Regions from separate parts of the Homo sapiens genome. Here regions 2, 3, 4, 5 and 6 are each linked to region 1. Evidence: promoter capture Hi-C in 16 types of primary human blood cells and fetal thymus (Javierre and others, 2016). All regions are on one chromosome and are shown on one strand. Each heading gives the region's core, a stretch centred on a gene start or on the middle of the fragment in contact. The rest is flanking DNA. Distances are from core to core; before and after follow the strand shown. Region 1 holds the start of TTC14 (tetratricopeptide repeat domain 14). Region 2 overlaps MCCC1 (methylcrotonyl-CoA carboxylase subunit 1). Region 3 holds the start of DCUN1D1 (defective in cullin neddylation 1 domain containing 1). Region 4 overlaps ATP11B (ATPase phospholipid transporting 11B (putative)). Region 5 overlaps ATP11B-DT (ATP11B divergent transcript). Region 6 has its middle 39 kb from the start of LINC02031.

What was found. The method cuts DNA at HindIII sites, captures the fragments that hold promoters and counts their contacts. A CHiCAGO score of 5 or more calls a contact.
Region 2: a fragment that was not itself captured here is called in contact with the fragment with the promoter of TTC14 in region 1 in 1 of 17 cell types (total CD8 T cells); the score reaches 5.3 in total CD8 T cells.
Region 3: a fragment that was not itself captured here is called in contact with the fragment with the promoter of TTC14 in region 1 in 2 of 17 cell types (non-activated CD4 T cells and activated CD4 T cells); the score reaches 7.2 in non-activated CD4 T cells.
Region 4: a contact is called between a fragment that was not itself captured here and the fragment with the promoter of TTC14 in region 1, in 2 of 17 cell types (naive CD8 T cells and naive CD4 T cells). The highest score is 7.1, in naive CD8 T cells.
Region 5: a contact is called between a fragment that was not itself captured here and the fragment with the promoter of TTC14 in region 1, in 2 of 17 cell types (naive B cells and total CD8 T cells). The highest score is 5.7, in naive B cells.
Region 6: a fragment that was not itself captured here is called in contact with the fragment with the promoter of TTC14 in region 1 in 7 of 17 cell types (non-activated CD4 T cells, naive B cells, total CD8 T cells and 4 more); the score reaches 10.0 in non-activated CD4 T cells.

Annotation. Positions count from the first base shown.
Region 1 is chr3:180,600,149-180,604,598 of GRCh38, forward strand. TTC14 (tetratricopeptide repeat domain 14) reads left to right here and starts at 2,015. Exons shown (of 12, transcript NM_133462.4): 1 at 2,015-2,274; 2 at 2,743-2,867; 3 at 2,976-3,175; 4 at 4,077-4,161; 5 at 4,330-4,450. The coding sequence starts at 2,114. It overlaps TTC14-DT (TTC14 divergent transcript), which reads right to left and starts at 1,965. Exons shown (of 3, transcript NR_183700.1): 1 at 1,755-1,965. RefSeq lists an enhancer at 1,806-2,095. The HindIII fragment of the contact is 2,365 bases long and covers 1,671-4,035 here.
Region 2 is chr3:183,094,873-183,099,322 of GRCh38, forward strand. All of the region lies in intron 1 of MCCC1 (methylcrotonyl-CoA carboxylase subunit 1), which reads right to left. Among named protein-coding and RNA genes, the nearest start is that of MCCC1, 2.4 kb to the right of the region's middle. The HindIII fragment of the contact is 810 bases long and covers 2,107-2,916 here.
Region 3 is chr3:182,979,870-182,984,319 of GRCh38, forward strand. It overlaps DCUN1D1 (defective in cullin neddylation 1 domain containing 1), which reads right to left and starts at 669. Exons shown (of 7, transcript NM_020640.4): 1 at 618-669. The coding sequence starts at 620. It overlaps LOC105374246 (a long non-coding RNA gene), which reads left to right and starts at 938. Exons shown (of 2, transcript XR_924771.2): 1 at 938-1,618. RefSeq lists silencers at 338-457, 518-957. The HindIII fragment of the contact is 5,858 bases long and covers 1-4,450 here.
Region 4 is chr3:182,802,295-182,806,744 of GRCh38, forward strand. All of the region lies in intron 1 of ATP11B (ATPase phospholipid transporting 11B (putative)), which reads left to right. Among named protein-coding and RNA genes, the nearest start is that of ATP11B, 11 kb to the left of the region's middle. RefSeq lists a silencer at 127-421. The HindIII fragment of the contact is 4,370 bases long and covers 357-4,450 here.
Region 5 is chr3:182,779,886-182,784,335 of GRCh38, forward strand. It overlaps ATP11B-DT (ATP11B divergent transcript), which reads right to left. Exons shown (of 3, transcript NR_187316.1): 3 at 2,714-4,450. Among named protein-coding and RNA genes, the nearest start is that of ATP11B-DT, 11 kb to the right of the region's middle. The HindIII fragment of the contact is 870 bases long and covers 1,389-2,258 here.
Region 6 is chr3:182,681,145-182,685,594 of GRCh38, forward strand. No RefSeq gene overlaps it. Among named protein-coding and RNA genes, the nearest start is that of LINC02031, 39 kb to the left of the region's middle. RefSeq lists silencers at 1,118-1,187, 1,598-1,667 and enhancers at 1,338-1,387, 2,512-2,561. The HindIII fragment of the contact is 1,092 bases long and covers 1,735-2,826 here.

The sequences.
Region 1 (4,450 bases), core at 765-3,264:
TACCCCCTAAAAGGAGCTGCTTTCTATGTTCACGGCCATTTCAGATGTTCAAGGTATGAGGTGGGGGAGGGTTATCCTAGTGTTGGAATTAGGAAGAAGTATAGACAGATCCCATAGTGATAAAACCATGTGCTACTGAAGAATGGCCTCAGAAGGTGACATTCCCAGGCTAAGTAACACTATTTGGTGTCTGGTTCTCAGACACCGGTTTCTTAGTCCCTCCAAAAAATGAGGTCCTTGATCACAGATTGACTCTAACACAAATCACATACTTATCAAGATGTCTATAATAATTTTTAGTGGTCAGCTTTCCTTTTCAGTGACAGCACTCTTTCCTAAAAACAACCATTCTCTAGAGTTATGGCTTAAAACAAGTCAGTCTGTACCATTTATTAAAGTTGATATGCCTATAGAAGCTTGAAATTTATTTATTTATTTATTTATTGAGACGGAGTCTCCCTCCGGCGCCCAAGCTGGACTGCCGTGGCGCGATCTCAGTTCATTACAACCCCCGCCTCCGGAGTTCAAGAGATTCTCGTGCCTCAGCCTCCCGAGTAGCTGGGACTACAGGCATGAGCCACCACGCTCGGCTAATTTTTGTATTTTTAGTAGAGACGGGGTTAGGCCATGGTGGCCAAGCTGGTCTCTGAACTCCTGACCTCAAGTGATCCACCCTCGGCCTCCCAAAGTACTGGGATTACAGGTGTGAGCCACCGTGCCTAACCCAAATTTATCTTTTACAGTTGCATTCTTGTTTGTTGCATTTTCTCAAGTCTCAAACTGTTTACCTATTTGCCTGGGTTTTCCACAAAACAGTGTGGCAGTATCGATTATGTTCTGGGCTAGATCTCCTATACAAAAGTGGTAACACAGTGAAAGGCAAGTTGATTTCCTCAAAGACACATGGTGGGAAGTGGAGAGACTAACTGTCACCGTTTATTTCTGTTCAAGAGGACTATACTGAACTATTTACACTGAACATATTTAAATGGTACAAATTTTATACTGGAATAAAACGAAGCTACATGATCTCAAAATTAGGGTTAGTTAGACCTTCCATATGATAAAATACTCAATCCAGCAACTCTGCCTGAGAAGACCAATTAATACTTCGTTTGGAATCCTAACTCTAGCCTCTTACTAGCTGTGTGCCATTGAGCAATTTACTGGGACTCTCTGAGCATGTTTCCTCGTTTTCTAAAATGAAAAAGTACAATAGCTACCATAGTGGTTAGGTTCTCAAGTCAGTAAGTAAGGGGATGGGGGACCTAAGTTGAAATTCCCTTTGAAAATCACTTGAATTGTCCATAAGAACAGTATATTGACTTTTGCGTACATACCACTATACAGTAAGTCCCACAGACACTAAATTTTGAGCAACCATTGAGATAAACTAAATAAGAAATGCATGTGTTCATTAGTTATTGTAAAACTTGAATGGCATATGCACGTGTGGAGACATTAAAGCCATCCTGGTTTTAGAATTCACAATCACTAACAGTAAATGGGGTATGGATGGAGAACACCACTCCAGGTGCTTAACAAATGTCCGTGTCCTTCCTTTCTTCTGCCCTTAAAACCACCTGGAAACCTTCCCGGAGCAGCCGGTTGAATGGGGTTACGCCAGAGACACAGGTATTGATTTACGCAGAGAGTACGTCGAGGGAAGAAGCTTGGAGACTCGTATAGGGTTCTTACCCTGGCACTGGCACTTAGAAGCACCTTGATGAATACGAAAAGGAATTATTATTTACCCTAGGTTACAGCTCGAGCTATTTCGACGTAATAACGATCCCACGTACACTTTAAAAAGCAAACTTCTCACATACATCACTTCCTGGAAGCCCTAGTCAGCCTTTAGCCCAAGCAATGCTGAGCCCAATCCTTCGGCCTTCCGTAGTCTCGCTCGGTTTCGCGAGATCGAGGCTGAGCTCCGCCGCGCCGCCGTGGGGGCGACCCCAGAACACTTCCGGGTGTAACTGGTTGTGCTGTCTGTGTACTTCCGGCAGCCTCCAGACAGTTTCTTCCGCTTCCTGTACCACCCGGCTCAAGTAGCGGACACGGAACAGGGAACTATCAGCCCGTCGGCCTCCGGGCCCTGCATTCTCTAGCCATGGACCGGGACCTTTTGCGGCAGTCGCTAAATTGCCACGGGTCGTCTTTGCTCTCTCTACTTCGGAGCGAACAGCAGGACAATCCACACTTCCGTAGCCTCCTGGGGTCGGCCGCCGAGCCAGCCCGGGGCCCGCCGCCCCAGCACCCGTTGCAGGGCAGGTAATGAGACGTTGGTGCCACTGCGCCACGGAAGAGGGGACGCAGCTCTGGCAGCCACTACCGCAGCCCCGGGTTTGCGTCTAGAGGAAGTGGAGCCGCGGCCGTGAGCACAGGACGATCGCGCGCTGGTGTCTTGGGCTGGGTGGACGGGGGGCGCTCCTGGGTTGTGCAATGCGGGATGCGGGCTGAACTTTTTCTCTGGCACTGCTTGGTAGAGGCGCAGATTCCTTAGCTAAAAATCCCTTGAGCTTTCCTATCTGAGTTGGAGGCGTCACTTTTTAAGTTTCCCCGCTCTCCACCTCCAGGTTGGTTAATGAGGGAATGCCTAGTTAAAACTTTTTGTCTGAGGTTGTATTGTCTGCAGCTTAGGATGGAGCGGAATGGGCGATGAAAGCCATAAGCAGAAGGTTAGAAGTAAAGAGGCTTTGCAGATAACCCAATTTTCATATATATTTTTTTCTTTTTAAGAAAAGAGAAGAGAGTTGACAACATCGAGATACAGAAATTCATCTCCAAAAAAGCGGATCTGCTTTTTGCACTTTCCTGGAAATCAGATGCACCTGCAACTTCTGAAATTAATGAAGACAGTGAAGGTCAGTTTAGCCTTAAAATCTTTAAGATTGCGGTTCGGTTTAACAGTACTTCAGGTGAAACGGAACTCAAAACTATCGTTAGTGATTTTGTTAATTTTTTTTTTTTAGATCATTATGCAATCATGCCACCTTTAGAGCAATTCATGGAGATACCTAGTATGGATCGGAGAGAGCTGTTTTTCCGAGATATTGAGCGTGGTGATATAGTGATTGGAAGAATTAGTTCTATTCGGGAATTCGGTTTTTTCATGGTGTTGATCTGTTTAGGAAGTGGTATCATGAGAGATATAGCCCACTTAGAAATCACAGTAAGTTATTTTTGTTACTTGGATTGCTTCTGTTTTTGTTAACGCATCTCAATGCAAGAACTATATCTTTGCATGCAGTTGTGCTCAAGTATACCTGCCAAGATGCTTTTGGAAATTAAATGTTAATTGGAGAAAAATAGTTTAAAAAAATTAGTGTAAGTTACCCAGTTTCTCCCTCCATTTCTGGTTTTTGGGATTTTTTAAATTTAAACTGGTTGGCAGGCACAGTGTTCTTTTCTAAATGCTCAAAGAGGTATCAGTGGACGTGGTGAGGTTGATTGATATTCAGACTTATTTCTTGTAGTTGAACATATGTATTCTTAATTAGTTAATATTTGGCATTGTATATTTTCATGTGGATAATTTGGAGAGAAGTTTCATTTATATATTTACAATAATTAAATGTAAGTGGTTTGTACATTATATTAAGATACTTTGCCCAAGATGGATAGTCCTGAATTTAAACTAATGTGTCACGATAAAAGATTGGGTATTTGCCATCTATCCAGGCAGATAAAAAGGAAGAAAAGCAGAAGGTATTACAGATTGGATAACAGACAAAATACTTTGGAGAATTGGCATTTCATTTTCACTGGAATCCTTATACCTTTTAGACAAATTTTAGTTTGTTTTTGATGCATGTTGTATACTGTCATAAGCCATCATATTTGGTTCCTAAACTAATGGAAAGTTTCATGAGATTTTAGTTTTTTAACTGAACCAGCAAACATATTTTACTGTGTTTGGACACGGAAATTACTTTTAACTAAATCCTTATTTAAATTTTTACTTTAGGTTGTTCAACTACTAGCTGTTTCATACCAAACAACTAAGATAAAAGAAGACACTGTTCTTATCAAAGCTTGAAATGTCTGGTGTTTTAAAATACTTCTCATTACAGGCTCTTTGTCCCTTAAGAGATGTGCCTTCTCACAGTAACCATGGGGATCCTTTATCATATTACCAAACTGGTGACATCATTCGAGGTGATTAGTTTCATCATACTAATAAAAAAGTAATGATTGTTGAATTTTTGTTTTTATTAATTTAAAAAAATACAGTCTAAGAGGGTAGTGTTTGGGAAAGTTTATATTTTTTATGTTAGTTTACATTTTCTTACTAATCAGCTTAGTTCTCTTTTTTTTTTTCTTAAGCTGGAATCAAGGATATTGACAGATACCATGAAAAGCTAGCAGTATCTCTGTATAGCTCTTCTCTTCCACCACACCTATCTGGTATTAAATTAGGTGTAATTAGCTCTGAAGAGCTTCCTTT
Region 2 (4,450 bases), core at 1,262-3,761, 2.5 Mb after region 1:
CCAAGGTATACCAACATCATCTAGTTTAGCTTTTTTGAAACCTTTTTGGCTACAACTCACAATACAAACTACCCAGGACACACACTTAATGAAAACAGATGTTTTGTTAAAAATGACTCATTCTGCCCTGGCCAGGCACGGTGGCTCACACCTGTAATCCCAGCACTTTGGGAAGCCGAGGCAAGCAGATCATGAGGTCAGGAGATTGAGGCCATCCTGGCTAACACGGTGAAACCCTGTCTCTACTGAAAACACAAAAAATTAGCCGGGCGTCATGGCGGGCACCTGTAGTCCCAGCTACTCGGGAGGCTGAGGCAGGAGAATGGCGTGAACCCAGGAGGCAGAGCTTGCAGTGAGCCGAGACTGGGCCACTGCACTCCAGCCTGGGTGACAGAGCGAGACTCCGTCTCAAAAAAAAAAACAAAAACAAAAAGAACAAAACTCTTTTGGTTCTTTCAGTTGTATCCTATTTTATTAAAATATGCTGGTCAATCTACAGTTTGAAAAATACCAATCAAGTTTAAACATGAGACATGTTTAAAAAGTAAGACCAGAGAAATAAACGGAAGTTAAACAGGGGCAACAGAAAGAATGTTGGCTGTGGGACCAGAAAAGCTGCATTCTCATCCGAGTCCCTCCAATGACCAGCTTGCCCAGGGTCGAGTCACTTTACATCAGTGTTTCTCCAACTTTTTTTTCATTATTACTCTCCTAATGAGAAAACTTTTAAAAGATTTTATTCCTTGTAGGAAGGGTGGGGTAAGGTTGAGCTTTGGAAAGCCGTAAACCATGACAAAATCTAAGATTTCCTGGCTCTCCTAAGAATCAATTTCCACCCTTTAGCGGTGGTATCATCCCAGTTGAGGATGCAAGATTTAATAGCTTGGGCTTCAGTGTTCTCACACACGAGATGAGACTATAAGAGGTGATCTTGAAGGTACCTCTCAGATTTAAAAGTACTATACAATTCTATTCCAAGTCCTTGTATTTAAAAAAATGGAGAAATGGGGAGACAAAATGACTTGAGGTATTTTAATGAGGTAGAAGTCTCAACAATTTTTAAGTTTCGTGATACCTGTGTATAAAATAAAGTAACCAAGAGCTGACAGAAAACAGGCCAGATTCACTTTAGGAACAAAAAAGTATAACGTCTATTAAGTTTCAGCTAAAGAGGATAAGTGGGCTGGGTGCAGTGGCTCACGCCTGTAATCCTAGCAATTTGAGAGGCTGAGGTGGGGGGATTACCTGAGGTCAGGAGTTCGAGACCAGCCTGGCCAACATGGTGAAACCCCATCTCTACTAACAATACAAAAATTAGCCAGGTGTGGTGGTGCGCACCTGTAATCTCAGCTACTTGGGAGGCTGAGGCAGGAGTATCACTTGAACTTGGGAGGTGGAGGTTGCAGTGAGCCAAGATCGTGCCACTACATTCCAGCCTGGGTGACAGAGTGAGACTCCATCTCAAAAAAAAAAATAAATAAATAAATAAAAAGCATATGCAGGGAAACAAACAAATTACAGAAGCAATTCCACCTATCTTTTTGTCTATACCTGGAAGATGTGGTTATAAAGGACTAACTAACCATTTTAGATTATTCACAAAGCACAAGATAAAAGCACAGCGTGTGCATTAGAAACTATGTAACTAGGCAGTAGTATATACATATTATGTATATGACTATGTAGTTGAGCAGGACTAGTATTTCACTGGAGCGGAGATGCAGTAGACATCTACACATCTATATGCGTCTATACACTCATTGCCCTACAATGCACACTCAGATGCTGCCATCCATGAGGAGCTGCTGGGAAGACCCACAGCTTTGGCAGGAGAGTTCCGTGAGCTAGCTTCCTCACGAGGCTGCTGCTTTCCCACACCTTTCCATTTCAGCTGATGTTACCTTCTTGATCCTGAAGGAGGGGGATCATCTTTCCTGATCTTTATGAGGTATTTTCTAGCTCATAGCATCGTCTTCCCTTTACATTCTTCAGATAGGCTTCTGATAAGTTTCAAGGCCTATTCTGGGCAGATGTATCTATTAAATGGTTGCTTGTTGGTAAAGCTAGCTTAAGACTGATTCGGTTTCAAGGCTACTGTTGACCTAAAGCTTTCTTTTGCAATCTTCTAGTGAAGACAGAAGAAGGGAGAGAGGGAAAAAGAGGGAGAAAGAGACAGAGATCCCACTTAACTGTAATCCACTATCCCAACAATGTTCTGATCATCTATTCCATTTTTCACAATTATCTAAGCTGCAACTTAAAAGCAATGGCTTAAACAAGATTAAGAAGCTGCTTCCCCGGAGCTTGCAGTGAGCCGAGATTGCGCCACTGCAGTCCGCAGTCCGGCCTGGGCGACAGAGCGAGACTCCGTCTCAAAAAAAAAAAAAGAAGCTGCTTCCCTGATTCAAGGTAGCTCTATACCAGCTTATTGTCATGTCTATAATTCTGCCACCAGAGATTATTTTCTGTGAGCTACTAAAGATTCATAACATAAAAATAATGTAAACTATCTGTGCTGTTAAGATTTTTTTGTTTTTGTTTTATTTGAGATGGGATGTCACCCAGGATGGAGTACAGTGGTGTGATCATGGCTCACTACGGCCTGGAACCCCTGGACTCAGGCCGTCCTCGCCCTCCTCATCCTCCCAAGTAGCTGTGACTACAAGTGTGTGCCACTACGCCTGGCTAATTTTTTAATGTTTTGTAGAGATGAAGCCTCACTGTGTTGCCCAGGCTGGTCTTGAACTCTTGAACTCAAGCAATCCTCCCACCTTGGATCCCACAGTGCTGAGAAACTGCTGAAAATACAGGCATGAACCAAGTCTCCTGGCAAAGAGTTTTACTTCTATAAGCCATTAACAACTCTAACACTCTCCAGAGTGACATACTTGAGGATAGTTCTTTAGACAATAGCTAAGCTTTGAAAGGGAAGACAGGAAATGGGTCTATGGTACTATCCTGAAGAGCCCTGGAGGCCTAAGAAAAGAAAAACCAGAAGAACAAGAAGAACATTAACATTACTTACACCAACTTTTTTTTTTATTTTTTTATTTTTTATTTGAGACGGAGTCTTACTCTGTCGCCCAGGCTGGAGTGCAGTGGCGTGATCTTAGCTCACTGCAAGCTCCGCCTCCTGGGTTCACACCATTCTCCTGCCTCAGCCTCCCGAGTAGCTGGGACTAACAGGCGGGACTATAGGCGCGTGTCACCACGCCCGGCTAAATTTTTTGTATTTTTTAGTACAGACGGGGTTTCACCGTGTTATCCAGGTTGGTCTCGATCTCCTGACCTCGTGATCTGCCCGCCTCGGCGTCCCAAAGTGCTGCGATTACAGGCGTGAGCTACCGCGCCCCGCCAACTTCCAACAACTTTCTTATGTTTCTCTGGGGCACTCCTACAATTAAGTAACTAAAAAGGGCATCTACAATATTTCTGGAAAATAAAAGCAAGCAAACGTTCATATAAATGGTTGAGTTTGCATTTATAGACTGATCTTATGTACCAGATTGTGCTTAAACCTCATTCCATGAATTAATTCATTTAGTTTTCACAACCCAAGGTACTCGTATCATCTCCAAGGTGAGGAAATTAAAGAAGAAATATTAAGTAACTTACCCAAAGTCACACACCTAGTGAGTAGCTAACTAAGACCTCAGCCTTGACTGCAGAGTCTGTGCCCTTGAACACTAAACTGTCAATCTTTCCAGAATGATGAAGGATGATAACGATGAAGCAAAAGAAGACAAAGAAGCAAAGCTATCTACAAGCCTGAGGGTTTTTTCACTGCCAGAGTTATTGCCACCAAAGCTTAGAGCTCAAAATTTGAAACAGAGCTGGAGTCAGGTGAGCTAGACTGAGTCATCTGATAGCGTTGTTCAAACTTGGGTACAAGAGTTTTTGACAAAATAATTTCCCAGCTCTGTGGAAGGTACATTTGCTCTTCTTGACAACTTCACTCTTCTAACAATGAGAAGGAACTCCAGGAGTCTTTCTCTGAACTGGACACCTGATGGGGCACAGCTGAACTGAAAAATGGCTTTGAGGGCATCCCGGCCCCATTTCTTACTAGCTGTGTTTCGTTGAGGAAGTCGTTGATCCCTTTGGGCTTCCCCGGAACCGGATTATAACAACGCTCCCACCTAAGGGGTGCTGCGAAAGCCCGATGTAAACGGCTACGAGCTGCAGCGACGGCGAGGGGAGCCTGGAGGATGGCGGGCCCAGTCCTCAGAAATGGAAAAACAGAAGCCAAAGGCGCGCTGAAGCGTGGATGTGCGGAAGCGGGGAGAAAGGGAAGGGCTGGTGGGGATGTCTTCCTCCCGACGCCGTGACTGCCGGCAGAACCCCTCCGAAAGTGCCTGGGGTTTTCCTACCGTCCTCCCCACACCGACCCTGGGTTCCGCCGCACCTCCCACCGCTCACGCGGGTCCGTGCACCCCTCGCTCCCGCCTCT
Region 3 (4,450 bases), core at 655-3,154, 2.4 Mb after region 1:
TCCTTCTCCAAAAGCATGGGACGCCTCGAGAGGTGATGGAGAAAGGAAAAGGGCTGATACCCCGCCCCAAGCAAAACTGCCTGGGAGACTTGCGGGGTATTGGAGCCGGGAGCGGAGGAGGGAGAGGCGCGCCGGGAAAGTCTTTCCTTCTCCCCGGCCGGGCGGAGAGGGAAGCCCCGGCTTCGGGGCGGGGGGAGGCTACTCACCCGGAACCCCAGACCCCAGTCCCCGACCAGACACAATGGAGCCGGCAGAGGGGCAGGGGCAAGGCCGTTGCCCCCTCCCCTCCCCCCGCCCCAACGCCTCCCCCACCCGCGCCGGGCCCCGGCAAGGGGCACCGGGGCCGCTCCCCGCGCCCCAAACTCCCCGGGGCTCCCGACTAGGCCCGGCTCCGCTCCGCCTCCTCGGCTCTCGCGTAGCGGCTGCGCCCGGGCGGGAAGGGGCGAAGGAGGAAGGGAGAGGCAGGCAGGAGAGCCCCCGCCTGGGAGCGGGACGGAGGCCGCGGGCCGAGGCTCGGGGCTGCAGGGTCGCCGCGGGACGGAGGGCGGCCGGGGCGGGGGTGCGCGGCAGCGCCGGCCCCCAGCCGGCAGGGCGGGCGGGCGGCCGCAGTGCCTCACCATGTTGGTGTCCTCCAGGCCTCTCCCCTCCTCCTCCGGCTCCGCAGCGAATGGACGGCGGCGGCGGCGGCGGCTCCTCTCACGGGCTTGCCCGGCTCCCGCTCATGCGCAGTGCGGGGCGGCCCGGCGCGGCCCGAGGAGGCAGCCCCGGACCTCGGGGAGGCGGAGGGACGGAGGCAGGCGGAGGGCGCCCCGCGCGGGGCTTCCCCCGGGCGCGGGGGTCCCCCGGGGAGTGGGCGGGGGCGGGGGGCGCGGCGGGGGAGGGGCGGGCGACGCAAGCCCTCCGCGCGCCGACATCCTCCTGCCGCGCCGGGCGGTCTCTGGTGGGGGCGCCGGGGGACACCCCACCTCCGTTTCCTACGCGGTTCCTTCCGGACGACCACGGCCGGGTCTACGCAGGCTGGAAGCGGGCACGAGCGGCGGCGGATAAGTTGAGCAGCTGGGGGCGGCTGAAACGGATGGTTGAGGAGCTTCATCCATCCCAGACCTCCCCTCCCCATCAGTATCAAAAAAAGGGAGAAGATAGTGGAAACACCTCCCCCTGCCCCGTGTTTTCTTCTTTTTCCCCCCAATCTCAGTATCAGACCTACATCAGTTCCCTCGCGTGGGCATCCCAGGGGAGACCTTAGTCCCCCCCCTGCGGTGGCTGTCACTCCATTAGTGAGGACCAGGCTCTCCCCAGACCTGTCTACTGGGAGACAGTTGGGGTAACCCTATAGTGAGATGGGGTGGGGTGCACTGAGACCCAAGGCCGGGCTGCGGGAGTCCAGGTTGCCTGCCTACTGCTAGCTCTCAGTATCCCCTCAGTTCGGCCCGCCCAGGATAAGTTTCGGGAAGCAACTACACATTTTTTCACTGAGGGTCTAGTCACGCAGGGCGGACAGTCCAGGTGTGACCTGCCCTGGGCGTTAAATCAACTGAGGCTGAGGAGCACTAGGATTCTGAGCTGAGGATCAAGTGGACAAATTCGTGCTGCAAGGAGGACAGAAGACTCCTGTGGAGTAAGTGGTCCTTGCCCTTCAGAAATGTAGTATCCAGTTGGAGAGATAAGACACCTTCACACAGGAAGGAAATAAAACAGCTAAGAAAGCAAACTCACTCAGAAAGTCACATCTGAAACTGTACCAAGAGCTTACCTACGTTTCAGAACAGGACCCACCTGAGTAGACCCGTTATCACCATCATCACCAGCACAGGCATTAAACGACCAGATCAACCCTATAACTAATGAATTTGTTCTTACCAAAACAACAGAACTTCTTTGGTAACTCCCAAAGGCCTCCTAACTTCCTGGAGCTAGCCATGTACTGGGAGCGCCCAGCGCTGTACCAAGGCAGGTTTCTGGCGGCCACAAACCGTTCATCCATTCTTTCCCCCAATATTTAAAGAATGCATGTGAATGTGCCAAGCTCCTTGCTGGGCTCTGGGTAAATAGTCCTGCAAGGAGAAGCCAGATCTGCCTCATGCAGCAAGCCTGAAACTGGACTACATCCACGGAGGTTCTCCAGGAATTCACCTAGCTTTTGACCTAAAGTATTAACACCTAGGGCGTTAATGAGGAGGATTCACTGTATCTCTTACTCCAATCTGTTCTACTCCATTGAAATAATCGTTTGTGGGTTTTCCTAAGCTCTACCAAGGTACAGGCCTTAGTTATTCTAATTGACCTCTCGCCTGCGTTTGGACACTTCCTCCTTGAATTTCCTGTTCATTTTCCATGACTCCACCTTCTCCTGCATCTCCTCTTTACTCTGACCACTCTCCTTTGCTGGCTGTACTCAATTTAGGCTTTCCTGACCATTCCTGAACGTCCTTCTGTATACAGCCTGTGTCACGCTGTCACTCACATTCCCACGTCAACTACTGCCCATATCAAGAGGAATCTCAAATCTTGACTTCCAGTCCCCAAGTGACAGGCCTAAACACTCATTCTGGTCATTTCACAGGTCCATCAAGCTCACCAAATCTAAAACTTTATCCCCAAACCCACTTTTCCTCCTGCCTTTTATCAAATCATCCAAACTAGAAATCTAAGAATCATCCACCACTCTTCCTGCCTCATCCCCTTACTCCGCATCTCACCAGTTTTCCCTCCTAAATGACTTTTAAATCTGCACCCTGCCTTCTATTTCTTAGCCAATTCTTTTTGTTGTTGTATTTTTTTGTTTGTTTTTGAGATGGAGTCTAGTTCTGTCACCCAGGCTGGAGTACAATGGCGCAATCTCAGCTCACTGCAACCTCCGCCTCCCAGGTTCAAGCGATTCTCCTGTCTCAGCCCCCACCGAGTAGCTGGGATTACAGATGTGTGCCACCATGCCCAGCTACTTTTTGCATTTTTAATAGAAACAGGGTTTCACCATGTTTGTCAGGCTGGTCTCGAACTCCTGACCTCATGATCTGCCCCACCTCGGTCTCCCAAAGTACTGGGATCACAGGCGTGAGCCACCGCGCCTGGCCAGCCAATTCTTTATCATCTCTCCTCATCAGTAACTTCTTACCTAATCTTCCAGCCTCTACTCCTTCTCCACTGCTCCATAGTTGTCTTTCTATAATGCAAATGTGAATTTGTCCGTAAAATTCTCCAAGAGCTGCATAAGCATGAGCCTCTGGAATGGCATTAAAGTTCTCTCCTCTGATCTATCCATTCCCATTGCCATTTTCCACCACCCTCCACCCAAATGCACCTCATATTTCAGTTTTCACAAACCAAGACTGCCATACCTCTGCATGTTTCCTTGCTTTCTCCAATTCTCCTATCCCTGGCCTCCTAGCTAATACTGACTGAGCCCATGACACATACTAATTTATGTAATCCTCACTGCGACACATACTAACTCATATAACCTCACTTCTACCCTATGAGCATGCCCAGCTATTACGCCCATCCTACAAAGGGGAAAATGGAAGCACAGAGAGATTAAATAATATGCCTAAAATTCCCTAGCTAGGCCAGGCGCAGTGGCTCACGCCTGTAATCCCAGCACTTGGGGATGCCAAGGCGGGCAGATAACTTAAGTTCAGGAGTTCGAGACCAGCCTGGCCAACATGGCGAAATCCCATCTCTACTAAAATTAACCGGGCATGGTTGCGCATGCCTGCAATCCCAGCTAGTCCGGAGGCTGAGGCAGGAGAATCGCTTGAACCCTGGAGGCAGAGGTTGCAGTGAGCTGAGATCGCGCCACTGCACTCCAGCCTGGGCAAGAAGAATGAGATTCCACCTCAAAGAAAAAAAAAAAGAGATTCCCTAGCTAGCAAGTAGCAGAGCTAGGATTTGAAACCTGATAGTCTGGCTATCTGGTTAGTCTATTCTCTTGATTACCACATTATATTTCCCACCAAGATCTCAGTACTCAACTCAAAGACCATCTTCTCTATGATTGTCTCCTGACCTGATCCTTGGATTCCAGCAGTTAGGCAAGTTTCTCCCCACACCTTACATATACTTTTGTTACACTTATGACATTCATATGATAAGCATTTGCCAACATGACCATCTCCCCTGCCAGACTGCACTGCTTAAGGTCAGAGACCTGGTTGCACAATTCTTTGAGTTTTCAGTGTCAAAGTGAGTGCCTGACATATATGTGCTACATAGTCACAGTGGGATAAATTAATGAAAAGAAAGAGATATGTAACTGATGTCTGTCTTAAGACAGTGCCTATATTGTTTGTTATTGTAAAGGAATGCTTGTTCTCCTTGGCAGATGTATGTTATACCATATGGTCAGATGGTAAATGTAGTAGCAACTGTATCCATTACTGTACTTCCTGGCTACAGTACTGAATGTGAAATGGAGAATTATTACTCAATCATCATGATTGGGTGAGATAAA
Region 4 (4,450 bases), core at 1,292-3,791, 2.2 Mb after region 1:
CTGTTTTCAATATACCCACCAGAGTGATCTTATTAAACAGGTTAGATCATATAATTCCTCTGCCTAAGATTTTCCAAGTGCTTGCTCTTTTGTTCAGAGTAAAAGCCAAAGTCTCTGCTTGATCTGTATGCCAACCCCTACACTTCTTCCAATCCATTTCTCATCCTCCATCACTATTCTCTCACTCTTTATTCACACTAGCCTTATTGCAATTCAGAAGTCCCAGGCATACTTCAGTTTTAGGAGCTTTGTCCTGACTGTTACTACCTCTACCTGGAATGTTCTTCCTGCAGACATCTGCTGGCTCCTTCGCTCCTTTCAAGTCTTTATTCAAATATTGCGTTATTCATGAGTGAAGCTTTTTCCAGCCATTCAGTATAATGTTCTGACCCTCCCCATTACTTCCCTGTTGCCTTTCCTTGCTTGATTTCTCAGCACTTAATGCTATTTAACCTACTCCAAAACTTGCTAGTCTCATTTATCTCAGGAAGGAAGGGATTTTGTCTGCTTTAGTTTTGTTCTCCATTTAACAAAAGCCATTTCTCAACTCTGCATCCCCTTTTAGGTGACACCATTTCTTTCTCATGTATTGATGAATTGAGTCATTTTCTGTAAGTGAATTAGTTTTCTGTGATAGCATATTTGTTGCTAGGCTTTGGAACTACCAAAATGAAGTAATCCCTGCCCCAGCCAATCTTATGGGGGGTTCTTTTTTTCTAATGTATATTCGGATTGTTGCCAATTTTTTCCTGTTACAAAAAGTGTTACAATGACTATTATTGTTTATTTATTTATTTATTTTGAAGTTAAATACCCAGAAGTGGAATTGCTGGGTCATGGGTCACGTACATTATGACTGTTACTAAATATTGCCAAAGTATTTTCTAAAACAGAGTTCTCCTTTCCCTACATCTTGCTCAACACTTTGTACTGTCAGACTTGAAAAAACGTACCAGTCTGATGGGTGTGAAATAGTGTCTCATTTTGTTCTAATTTGCATTTTCTTGATTGCTGGTGAGATGCAGGTATCCTCAATTTCATTCACATGAATAGATTGCCCGTTTTCCATTGGGTAGTTTGGCCTTTCCTAATTCTTGCTATAGCCTGGATGCCAATTCTTTGTTGTATATGTTGTAAATATCTTCTAGTCTGTTCCGTGTATTTAATTTAGTTTATGGTATCTTTTTTTATACAGAAAGTTTAAATTTATTTGTAGGTAAATTTATTAGACATATGATTTCTGCTTTTTATTACATATTTGACAATTCCTTTGTTATACTAGGATCATAAAGCTGTTTTTCCAGCGTTTTCTTCAAATTGTTTTAAAATTAGTTTTTTAACATTTAGATCTTTAAAGATACCTGGAATCAATTTTTGTATATGGAATAAGGAAGGGAATTTGTTTTCTCCCGTATAGAAAGTTGTGTCAATGCTGTTTATTGAATGAGGCATCCTTCCTCCACGAGTCTGTGTTGTTTGCCTTCTCTGTCATAAGTGACACATTTAGGACACGTACCAGCATTCTCTTTCACATACTCTGTCATATACCAGCATTCTCTTTCATATACCTTGGTCTCATTCTAGATTCTGTATTCCATTTCATTCATTTCTTGGTGCACAAATAATGCTCTGTCTTAATTATAGTATTTTAATGATAAGTCTTGGTATTTGGCAGGCAGAACCCCCACCTTCTTTTTTTTTCTTTTTACAATTATACTGAACTTTATTCTTCCATATGCCACTTACAGTGTTTGTCTAGCTCCATGGAAAATAGTTCTAGATTTTGATTAGCTTTGCATTGAAGTTAAGTTTCTTCATATTTTTTCCCTTTGATGATTATAAGCTATGGATTGTATTTTCATTTTTATTTATTTTTCTAGTTATGCCTATAGTCATTGAGCATCTCTATACATAATCTACAAATAACATAGGAATTTAGATTTCTTTTTTTTTTCTTTTTTTTTCTTTTGAGACAGAGTCTCCCTCTGACCCCCAGGCTGAAGTGCAGTGGCGTGATCTTGGCTCACTGCAAGCTCTGCCTCCAGGGTTCAGGCCATTCTCCTACCTCAGCCTCCCGAGTAGCTGGGACTACAGGCACCCGCCACGACGCCCGGCTAATTTTTTGTGTTTTTAGCAGAGACGGGGTTTCACCATGGTCTTGATCTCCTGGCCTCGTGATCCGCTCGCCTTGGCCTCCCAAAGTGCTGGGATTACAGGTGTGAGCGACCGCACCTGGCAGGAATTTAGATTTCTTAACTCCAGTGTTCTTTCTCATCTTCTGCGTTACAGTTGCATAGTAGTCTGTTTTTTCTCTTTGACCAGCTTTATTGAGATACAACTCACATAACATACAATTTACCCTTATAAAGTATATGATTCAGTTTTTTTCTAGTGTATTCACAGGTTAGTGTAACCATCACCACACTCTAATTTTAGGATATTTTTTCTTCCCAAAAGAAACTCGATACTCATTAACTGTCATTCCCCATTTTCCCAAACCTCAAGCCCCCAGCCTAAATCAACCACTTTCTGTTTCTAGATTTGCCTACTCTGAACATTTTATATAAATGTCATCGTACCATATATGTGGTATTTTGTAACAGTGTTCTTTCACCTAGCATAATGTTTTCAAGGTTCTTCTATGTTGTAGCATGTATCACTACTTCATTTCTTTTTATTGCCAAATAATACTCAATTTTATGGATATACCACATTTTTTAATTCATCCATCAATTGATGGACATTTGGGTTGTTTCTGCCTTCTGGGTATTAGAAATAACACGGCTTTGACCATTCATCTGTAAGTTGTTATGTAGATGTGTATTTTCATTTGGGCTTATACCTAAAGAGTAGACTTTTATTGGGTCATATAGTAACTCTGTTTTTAACTTTGTGAGGAATTGCCAAAGTGTTTTCCAAACTATCTGGACCATTTTACATTCCCACTAGCAATGTATGAGGGTTCCAATGTCTTCATATCCTTGCCAACACTTACTTTTGTCTGTCTTTTTGATTATAGTCATCCTAGTGGGTATGAATAGTATCTTACTGCGATTTTGGTTTGTGCTTCCCTAATGACTAATGATATCCAATTTTTTTTATGTACCTGTTGGCCATTTGTGTATCATTTTTGGAGAAATGCCTATTCAGATATTTTTGCTTTTTTTTTTTTCTTTTGAGACGGAGTTTCACTCTTGTTGCCCAGGCTGGAATGCAATGGCACGATCTCAGATCATGGCAACCTCCGCCTCCCAGATTGAAGTGATTCTCCTGCCTCAGCCTCCCAAGTAGCTGGTATTATAGGCGCGTGCTACCAGGCCCAGCTAATTTCTTTTTTTTTTTTTTTAGTAATGATGGGGTTTCTCCATGTTGGTCAGACTGGTCTCGAACTCCTAACCTCAGGTGATCTGTCTGCCTTGGCTTCCCAAAGTGCTGGGATTACAGGCGTGAGCCACCGCACTGGGCCGCTTGTTTTTAATTGGGTTATTTCTTGTGTTTTAAAAAAAATTCTTGAGTTGTAAGACTTCTTTATATATTCTAGATATAAGACCTTTATGAGATGTGATTTGCAAATATTTTCTCCCATAATGTGGGTTGTAGTCCTACTTCTTTTTAAACTCAATGTTTTTTAGCATTAGTTTTTAATTAATATGGTAATTTTTATTTAGCACAAGGATTTAGTGATATCTTTTACTCATTATTGTTTCTTGCATACCACCTCTTTCTTCTGGATTTAATTTTATTCTTGCTGAATAACTTCTTTAGTTGTTTTTAAGCAAGAGTTCATGAGTGGTAATGTTTTTATTTCATAGTCACTATTGAATGGGAATTTAGCTAGATACAGAATTCTAGATTAATGGTTACTTTAGCTCTACGTATTGGAGATACTACTTATTCCATTACTTTCTGACATTTATTATTGCTGTTATGAAATATGCTTTTAATCTAATTGTCATTACTTTGTTGGTAATATCTTTCACATTATTTTTAAGATTATCTTTGTCCTTGATATTTTGTAATTTTACTGTGATGTATCCATCATGTTTTTTCATATTGTTTTTCCTGCTCTGCATTTGCGTGTGCTTTCAATCTGAAGACTATACAATTCAGAAAAATTTTTAGCCATTTTTTCTTTAAAATATTATTTCTCAGCCTTTAGTTTTCTCATTCTAGAACTCTTGCTTGACATATGTTGAAGCCTCTTAATTTGTTCTCTATGGCTCTTTTCTTATTCTCATCTCATTTTCTATCTGTGCTGTTTTCAGCAGAAATTTTTTATTTCTAGCTTCTAGTCCACCAATTCTCTTGTTTTCACTGTAGTTTATCCTGTCTTCTGAATTTTTACTTAAATGACAATTTCTCATTTTCAGCATTTATTTATTATTGGACCTTGTTCATTTCTGTCTGCTCTTTCTGCATATGTGCCTGATTTGTTTCATAATTTTTCATT
Region 5 (4,450 bases), core at 574-3,073, 2.2 Mb after region 1:
ATGCCAGACATATCTTCAAGAGATCTGCCTCTTCTATTTCCAAATACCACCCTTTCACCATGACCACAGTAATTCTGCTTTCTCCCCTAGTCAAATTTTCCCACTTTGGTGAATGGACGTGGCATACTCAGCTCTGGGAATTTGCTGCATTTTGTTAAATAAAAGTGTGCTTTGTAGTCGGCAGAATTGTTGGTTCCTGTGTCGGTCTAAGTTACTGACTTCAAAAGATATACAGAACTGTAATAATAGCATTAGAATTTTCTTAAATATTAAGGACAAGATTATATAAATGACTTGGACATGATGTACATTAAATTGGAAGTTAGCTTTTTATCAGGAATGGAGAGAAAGACATGGTAGATGAGACACAGAAGTAGAGAAGCAAAACATAATAACAAAGATTTTCAGCCTTTGGTCTTTGGATTTTAGACATTAAATTATATAAAAGTAAGCACAGTTTAAAAGTATATTAAAATGTTACTTTTATAACTTACCATTCTTGATGTGTTTAACGATTAGCCTAAATACCAAGGCTGTTTATGTGGGGACATAGGCATAAAATGAATAAGGTAATTTTTACTTATAGGGAGATTGTTGCAAAATAACACAACATGGGCTAAATTAGTGAGTATAGGATGAGAGCAAAATAATGCAAAGCAATACCCATTATCAATCCAGTACTTGCATGCTCATTATTATGTCTTGGAACCAGTTAAGAAAACAGTATTTTCACAGCTTTAAGATAAGAATGAAAAGCATTAAATCCATCGCACAAGTAGCCGGACACAGAGTACAGAGTTCCAAAGCTATTCACATTGGGCCTGGGAAGTGCCCATCAATGGTGAGCTGGTATTCTCCGTTTTTTAGCATACTATACTAGTTAAGAGCAAAGATTTTAACCTGAGAGAGACCTAGGTTTGTGTTCTGGTTCTGACAGTTCGTAGATGGGTGATCTTAGGCAAGTTGCTTAACTTTTGTGTACTTATGTGATTTTTGTCACCTGCAAAATGGGAACTATAATACCTACGTTCCTGTTAATAGTCAAAATATTTAATGCCTGGTACATCTTGGGCACCAACCAATCAGAAGGGACTCTGGTATTGCCTCGATGTTGGGAGCACCTGCTGTGCCCAGTGTTAACCCTTTAGTTTCAGAATTTGAGGACAAGGTTGAGGGGTCCGCAGGAGAAGAGTTGAGCCACTGGAGATATAGGGTGTGGTATGGAGGATACTTGGGGAACTCAGGGCACTGAGTTCTTCACTGACCACTATGGAAGTATTTCAGTACTTTACCAACCATTTTAACCATATGGCTGATGTAACTATAAATAAAATATAGTTGTTGTGAGAATTAAATGATACATGTAAAGCACTTAGTTCATACCACCAAGCTTAACAAATGGTAGCTATATAATAGTTAATAGTGTCATAATAGGAATAAAATAATGCCCTCATTGGGATTAGAGAGGATTAAATAAGATAATGTGTTACGTATTTAGTTCAGGGCTTGGCTCCTAGTGAGTCCTCAACAAATAGTAGGCATTATTATTATTGATTCTATTGTTGTTGTTTAATGCCTGGTATGTGGATTAAATTGTATACAGTGGATTACAAGGCCAATCAGGGCCAAGAAAATGTGGACATATAGCTACTAAATAATTGCTAAACTCATGCTGTGAGATTAAATAAGATCATGGAAAATCATATAAAAAAACAGTGTATAGTTTTAAGAAAAACAAAGAGTAATTCCTACAAAACAATAATCTGGGAATACATCTTGTTTGCCATATAGTGAAAAAGAAAATTAAATTAATAAGCATAACTGGATCTAACAAATTATTGGCTACAAATCCAGAAAAGGCACAATATAAAGGAACTGACAATAAAATAAAGTCAATTTTAGCATTCTTGAAGCAACTTGAATCTTGATTGTTACTGATAATTTAAAATTTAATGATACATTTTCACATCTCTGGGACTTTAGAGATAAAAGACTTTTTTTTTTTTTTTGAGACAGGGTCTTGCTCTAACACCCAGATTAGAGTGCAGTGGTGCAGTCTTGGCTCACTGAAGCCTCAACCTCCCAGGCTCAAACGATCCTGCCACTTCCACCTCCTGAGTAGCTGGGACTACAGGTATGCACCACCACGCCCAGGTAATTTTTAAAAAATAGATAAATAATATTTTTGACTAAATTAACAAGCAGGTAATAATTTTTCCTTATTAAAATATATCAGCTCAAATCTTGAGTCTTCAGAAAGCTTTGTTAAACTATAAAATTTAATCCTTCCTCAGAAGGGTATACAATCCAAAATGAAGTGACTGTTTTAAAATCATCTGCTTACTCTTTTTTTAAAGTAAACATTCAAAACAGGATAATTTAATAGATTTGGGGTTTGTGGGTTTTGAGCCTCTATTGTTTCTTGGCCCTCAAATCAATTATTACCAAACTGCTAATTTTACCACGATCTTAAAGTCTCCAGTGAACATTTAGTGGTCTAGTGGTTTGGAAAATGTGGTTGAGATGAAGTGAAACTCTATTGAATTTACCTTCAACTGAAATTAATATTTTCTTCTTAGGAGCTTTATTTCAGGCATGATAGTAAAGGTCAACAGATGATTTTTTTAAATTCATAAGGTAATAATCCTCACCATCATTATGAGGGAAGTATGTCTGAGGGAATCAACCACCGAAAGCAGCACAGAGCCAGAAGTGAGGGTCTCACTTTTTTATTCAAAGATATTTTTCCACATTTGAATGGTAAACTCAAAGCTAATTTGCATTACTGATTAATCAATATTGTACCACAAGTTCTTTTATAGCCTCAAAAGGATTTTTTCCACTCAAGTAAGCCTGAGAGAACAAAGGTTGCTATTCATATAAACTCTGTTTGAACAGATTTTTTTAAAAACATTGTGCTTACAGTAATGAGATTGCACACCAGTATTAAACATACAGTGTGCATATATAATTTTCTGGCTTCTGTTGATCCATCAGCTCAGTCTATCTGAATGATGAAATAAAGACAATTGCTTGCAGAGGAGGGAAACTGAAACCAATTGGGGATAAAGATAATAAAGATAGGTAAGAGCAAGATATTGAAGATCTACTGTCATCCACAGAGATAATATTCTGTTGGAGAGAGAACTATAAAGAAGTAACAGACTTTGAGACTCCCCTCACTGTATATTCACAAAAGATGTCTTTCATTCCACAAGCATTTTCTTTGAATACCATATAGAGGCCTCATTTATTAATAACTAAATTTGTTATGAACCAAACTTCTGTGTTAGTTACAAGAATGTACACTGTTTAATAGTGTGATTAGAGTCACATTTAAACTGCAGTTTTTTTTCATTTTTTTATTTTTCATTTTTTGTAGAGACGGGGTCTTGCTATGTTGCCCAGGCTGGTCCCAAACTCCTGGTCTCAAGCCATCCTCCCACCTCAGCCTTCCAGTGTGCTGGGATTACAGGTATAAGCCACACTATGCCTAGCCAAAACTGCAGCTTTCAATAAGTAGCCAAATCTAACAAGTATACTTTCATTCTCAGTCTAACATTTAATCAACAGAAAATTGAGTCAGGTGAGGAAAAAGGAGTTAAAGAACAGGCTGTACTGTATATGCTTACCTCTGATATAGAGGACAGTCTCAATCATTATTATTAAATGAAATATTCATATACAAATTAATACCACTGCATCTGAGTTATGTTAAAATAGATGCTCAATAACAGCAAATGCCTCACTTTGAAGAATGCACGTACTTCCTGTCATTTTCCCAGGTTGGATTCAGTGGTCCATCTCCCTGGGCTCTAACCCAAGGGTCAGGGAGATGCTAGGAACTGGGATAGTGGGAAAGGGCAGAGGGGGCAAGAGGAGGAAGGAAATCCAGGAAGATGAGACTTTTGGATGTCAACTGGAGACAAATTCAAACATCTTTGGGGATTAGAATCGGAGCGCTCATTTTAGGGAAGCTGGTGGGGACAATACCAATGCTACAAACCAAGTATTTTATCAGAGTTTTAACAGCAACTTGATTAAAGACAACAGATGGAGCTAAAAATAAAAATGGTGGATGCAACCTAAAAACTGGCATCTCTCTCAACAGACTATTGAATTCATTCACACAGGAGAAAAGTTGAATTCTCTTGTCTGACATATCAAAGCCCAATAAAGCAAAAACAAAATGTCATTCAGAATTCTAACGCAACCTTGTGGAATTCTCACACTCAACGAAGTTACCATTAATTATTAATACTTAGTGGAACTAAAATTAGAATTCACATGTATTATTATATTACTCAAGGTTAAGTGATATTTACATCTTTTTGTACAGGTACATACATAAAAACAACATACATGAAATGATACAGAGGAAGACATGTACATATGTTTGTAAGTTTGAAAAACTGTTTACCTTTCCTATTATGATTGAAGGCTTTTTTCC
Region 6 (4,450 bases), core at 1,031-3,530, 2.1 Mb after region 1:
TGTGCTGTCCAAAATATGTAAAAATACCACAAAACAGATTGTAGAGTATTGTCTATAGCCATTTAACTTGCATGTGTGATAAAGAGTATCATCCAAATATAACCTTATGAAATTTTTTTTAACTTCTAGAAGTCAAAAAGTACCCAAACACACACACATACACACAAACTTATGCTTTGTAGACGGGAGGGAGGTTTGCCATATGTGCGACAAACCGAAGGTTAAATCCTTATTACCTAAAACACAGCTTATAAATTCATAAGAAAAAGATAACTTATCATAATAAATGAATAATATTAAGCAATTCACAAAACAAGAAATTCAAATGTTCTACTAACTTTTTATTCTTTTATTCATTCAATCAATATCTATTGGGCATTTGGTATGTGCTCAGCATAATACAAGACACCAGGTACATGGTGATGAGCAAAAACTGGCCCTTCTCTGTAATTATTCGCAATATAATATTAAACCCAACTTACAATAAAAGAAATTCAAAATAAAATGGTGCCAGGGAATAATCAGACAAGTGTAGAATTGCATACAAAAATATTAATTGAGCTATTATAATAAGGAAAACTTGAAACTACCTTAATGTTTATTAATTCACTGTAAGTTAAATAAATGGATATAGACACTAAATTTGTCCCTAAAAATATGTAATGTCATTGGACAATTCCCACTGCAAAATATGATGGAAAAAAGCATGTGATACTGATGTTTAGATATATGCAAATTTCATATTTTCTACAGTAAAAGTATTATTCTAATAATTAAGGAAAACGCTTTTTAAACAACCAACATGAATGCTTTTGACAGGGATGCCATCGTGTAAGTTAATTGCCAAATAAACTAAATAAACTTTTTTTTTTACTATTATTCTTCAGTTGACAAATAAAAACTGTATAATTTACATTGTATGACATAATGTTTTGAAATATACATAAATATGCTTTCTTGGATGCTCACAATTTGGGTACACTTTGGAGCATACTGGAAAATGCTCCTAACGTTGGAAGCAACACAGTCCCCTTACTTGAGCGATAAAATGTTACTTTGTTCCTTAAATTAAAGAAAGGTTCGAAGTTTAGTTTGACATTCACCTCTGCCTTTATAAAACAAACACAGCCTATAAAATAACTTAAACGCCCAGAGTGCCGAGTTTCGTCGGGCCCTGGCTGCGCCGGGCCGAGCCCTGCCCCGCGGAGGTCGCCGCCCAGCACGGTCTGCAGATGGCAGCCTCTCGCGGAAAGCCCCGCAACGCCGCTTCCTGCCTGGGGGCGGCACTTGGGGCCCGCGCCGGGGTTTCAGAAACCTGTTCGAGCCGTTCCTTTATGGCGGAACGTTCTTATTTAGTAAATATTTATTCCACTCCCCGAGGACCCAGCACTAATCACTGCCACTTCTCTTTAATAATAAATGGTGAACTTCAAATGCGGCAGAACTCAGCCGGCTAATCAGTGCTCGCCGGGAGGTGCAAAACTGTCTGAAGCCCACCGGTGGACATGAAAGACGGAACATTTCCTGTTCCAGCTCTCGGTGGCCCAGAATAAACTTCAGCCGAATGAGAGGATGTCTAGGCGGCCGCCCCCCGCGCGCCGGCCCGGGAGCCCGGGTTCCATCTGCCCGCGGCCCGGAGGTGCGCCCCTGCCCGCTTCGCCCCGGGGACCCTCGGAACCCGCGGCTCTGCCCTCCACACAATCTGGGCTGCCGCTCCCTTGGGCTTTTCGTGAAAGCTTCCTTTTAAATTCGCTGTTTGGTCGCAAGCCATTTAGCCCTTTCCGTGGGCCCGGGCGAGGGGCGGAGAGCGGAGAGCGACCCGAGCTCCTGGGAACCTGGGGGCTCCGCGCTGGGGACTCCAGGCCGCCCGCCTCGGCTCTGGCCAAGGGGTCAGCACGTGGGGTGGCGTTTGCCCCAGCATTCCAGCCCTTTGGTCTCCAAAGGCTTTTTGTATTCACTAGGGAAGGTAAGGGCCGCCCCTTTAATGGTTGCATTTTGGAATGTAACAAACTATGAGGACCACCCGGTACGCTTGCGTTGGCATCATACGAGCCCCGCGGTCCCACCGTCACCCACGGCTGATTTGGAAATGCCACGGGGCCTTTGGACATATGGAAAGACTTTTGGCCCAGACACAATAATAAAAATATTCAAAACGTCTTGAGACATAACTCATTTATCTACAATTCTGTTTACTCAAGGTGTAATTTTCATTCTATATTGCCCATTCTGGTGAAGACATGAGTGTTTGAAGCGGGCTGACTATAGTTTTATGATAAGCCATATTTTAGCTTTAAATAAGAACTGCATTGCCTCCAAAGTATTCCATCTTTTGTGTAACAGAGACCCACAGATCCTAAGTGAAATTTGTTCTCAAATTTAACACATTTCTGTAACATATTTAAACCTGAGTTAATTTAGAATGGGTTGCTGGCACCACTGGGATTGATACTGAAATGGTTTTGCCTCATTCACATCGAGCCCTGCAAATGTACTTTAAATTCTACGCTCTTAATAATCCCTAGGCATGGAGAAAAGATTGGAAGTTCTTTTTCTACAACCGCTCACTGAAAACAACACAGTGCACGGTTTCAGTGATGAGCTTGGAGTGCCCCTCTGTGGAAGAAGGTGGGCACTGCAATTTTTCTTTCCTAAATTGACTTGCCGGTGTCTTAGGAACTGTGGTTCTTTACCTCTGCCAACCATGAAATTCGATGTTACTTTTCCATTAACTTTTGTGGATTGAACCTCACTCCTTGTTTTATATAGAAACTTAAATATGTGTTGAAAATAATGAATGAATCTTCTTGTCTCTCCTGCCCCCAAAGCTTTCCAACTGATGATAAAAGATGAGAACATTTTCTTGCAAAGCCCAAAGCTGTGTTAGTACCTATTCTGACATTTAGGACTAGACAGAATGGCTTGATAAGGAGCACAGATAGATGTTATCTTATGTGCCCGCAGGGGCTGCTACAGAAAGCTACTGAGACAGAGTTTGAGCTCAGGAAGAAAAGAATGATGTGATACAGAAAGTTAGGTGCAGAAAGTAAGTTAGTTACTCTCCCTCCAAAGAGTTGAAACCTGTGTTATTGATCTATAACAGTGCTGGCCATTGGCTCATTGTCGTGAGTTTATTTCATTTACTTCCGTTTTAATCTCAAAAGTCAAAACAGTGTATTCAGGCAAGGCAAGGTGACTCACACCTGTAATCTCAGCACTTTGGGAGCCTGAGGCAGGAGGATCACCTGAGGTCAGGAGTTTGAGACCAACCTGGGCAACGTAGCCAGATGCCCATCTCTCAAAACATTTAAAAATTAACTGGTCATGGTGGCGGGTGCTTGTAGTCCTAGCTACTTGGGAGGTTGAGGAGGGAGGATCACTTGAGCCCAAGAGTTCAAGGTTGCAGTGAGCCAAGGTTGCACCACGGCACTCCAACCTGGAGTGAAACCTAAATTTGGTTTCCCTCAGAGGTGATAAATCTTCACCTGAGTCATATGTTCAAGTTATACTTTAACAAGAGATATTTTCATTAGGATGCTTTTAACTGCGACTAAAACCCAAAATCTGTCTTATACAATACATGAGTACATTGACTCATATAACTGAAAATTCAGCTCAAGCTTCAAGCAAGGGTTGATATAGAGACCCCCCACAGTGTCACCATAGTATTAATTTCCTTCCATTTTTCTGCTTTATTGTCCAGGATATTGCCAAAAGGGGGATGGATGAAGCCACCAACATCATGGCTGCTCGAAGGAGGTAACTCAATGTTCTCTAAGAAGGAACGACACATGAAAATGGCTGTCATTTGAAAAAAATATATTTTTATCAAAGAGAAAATAATCTACAGATAAGACAGTATTTAAGAAGCAAAGCTTTATTTATTTTGAGTCTGTTTAGGTCCATGGTGGAGGAACTTGTCCTCCCATTTGCCACAGTATAAACGTTTAGTATGCCAATAAAAAGAGGCTGTGGTGAATCCCAACACACACACCAGGCTTCACACAGCACACCAAACTCAGTGCACCTGAGAGAATCCATGGTCTTGACTCTTCATCGTCTAGGGAAGTAACTGAGACTCAGGGCAGAGAAGTGAACATAAATTTCATCATATGAAAACTGAAAAGGCACTTCAAAACGTAAGTGGGGATCAAAGCTCTGCACACCAAAACTTGTTTATTAGTCAAGAAACAACAACTGCAGGCCGGATGCACTGGCTCATGCCTGCAATCCCAGCACTTTGGGAGGCCAAGGTGGGTGGATCTTTTGAACCCAGGAGTTTGAGAATAGCCAGGCAACATGGTGAAAACCCATCGCTACAAAAAATTAGCCAGGCATGGTGGCGTGCACCTGTAGTCCCAGCTACTTAGGAGGCTGAGGTGAGATGATCACTTGAGCCCAGGAGGTTGAGGCTGCAATGAGCCAAGATCATGCCACTGCACTCCAGCCT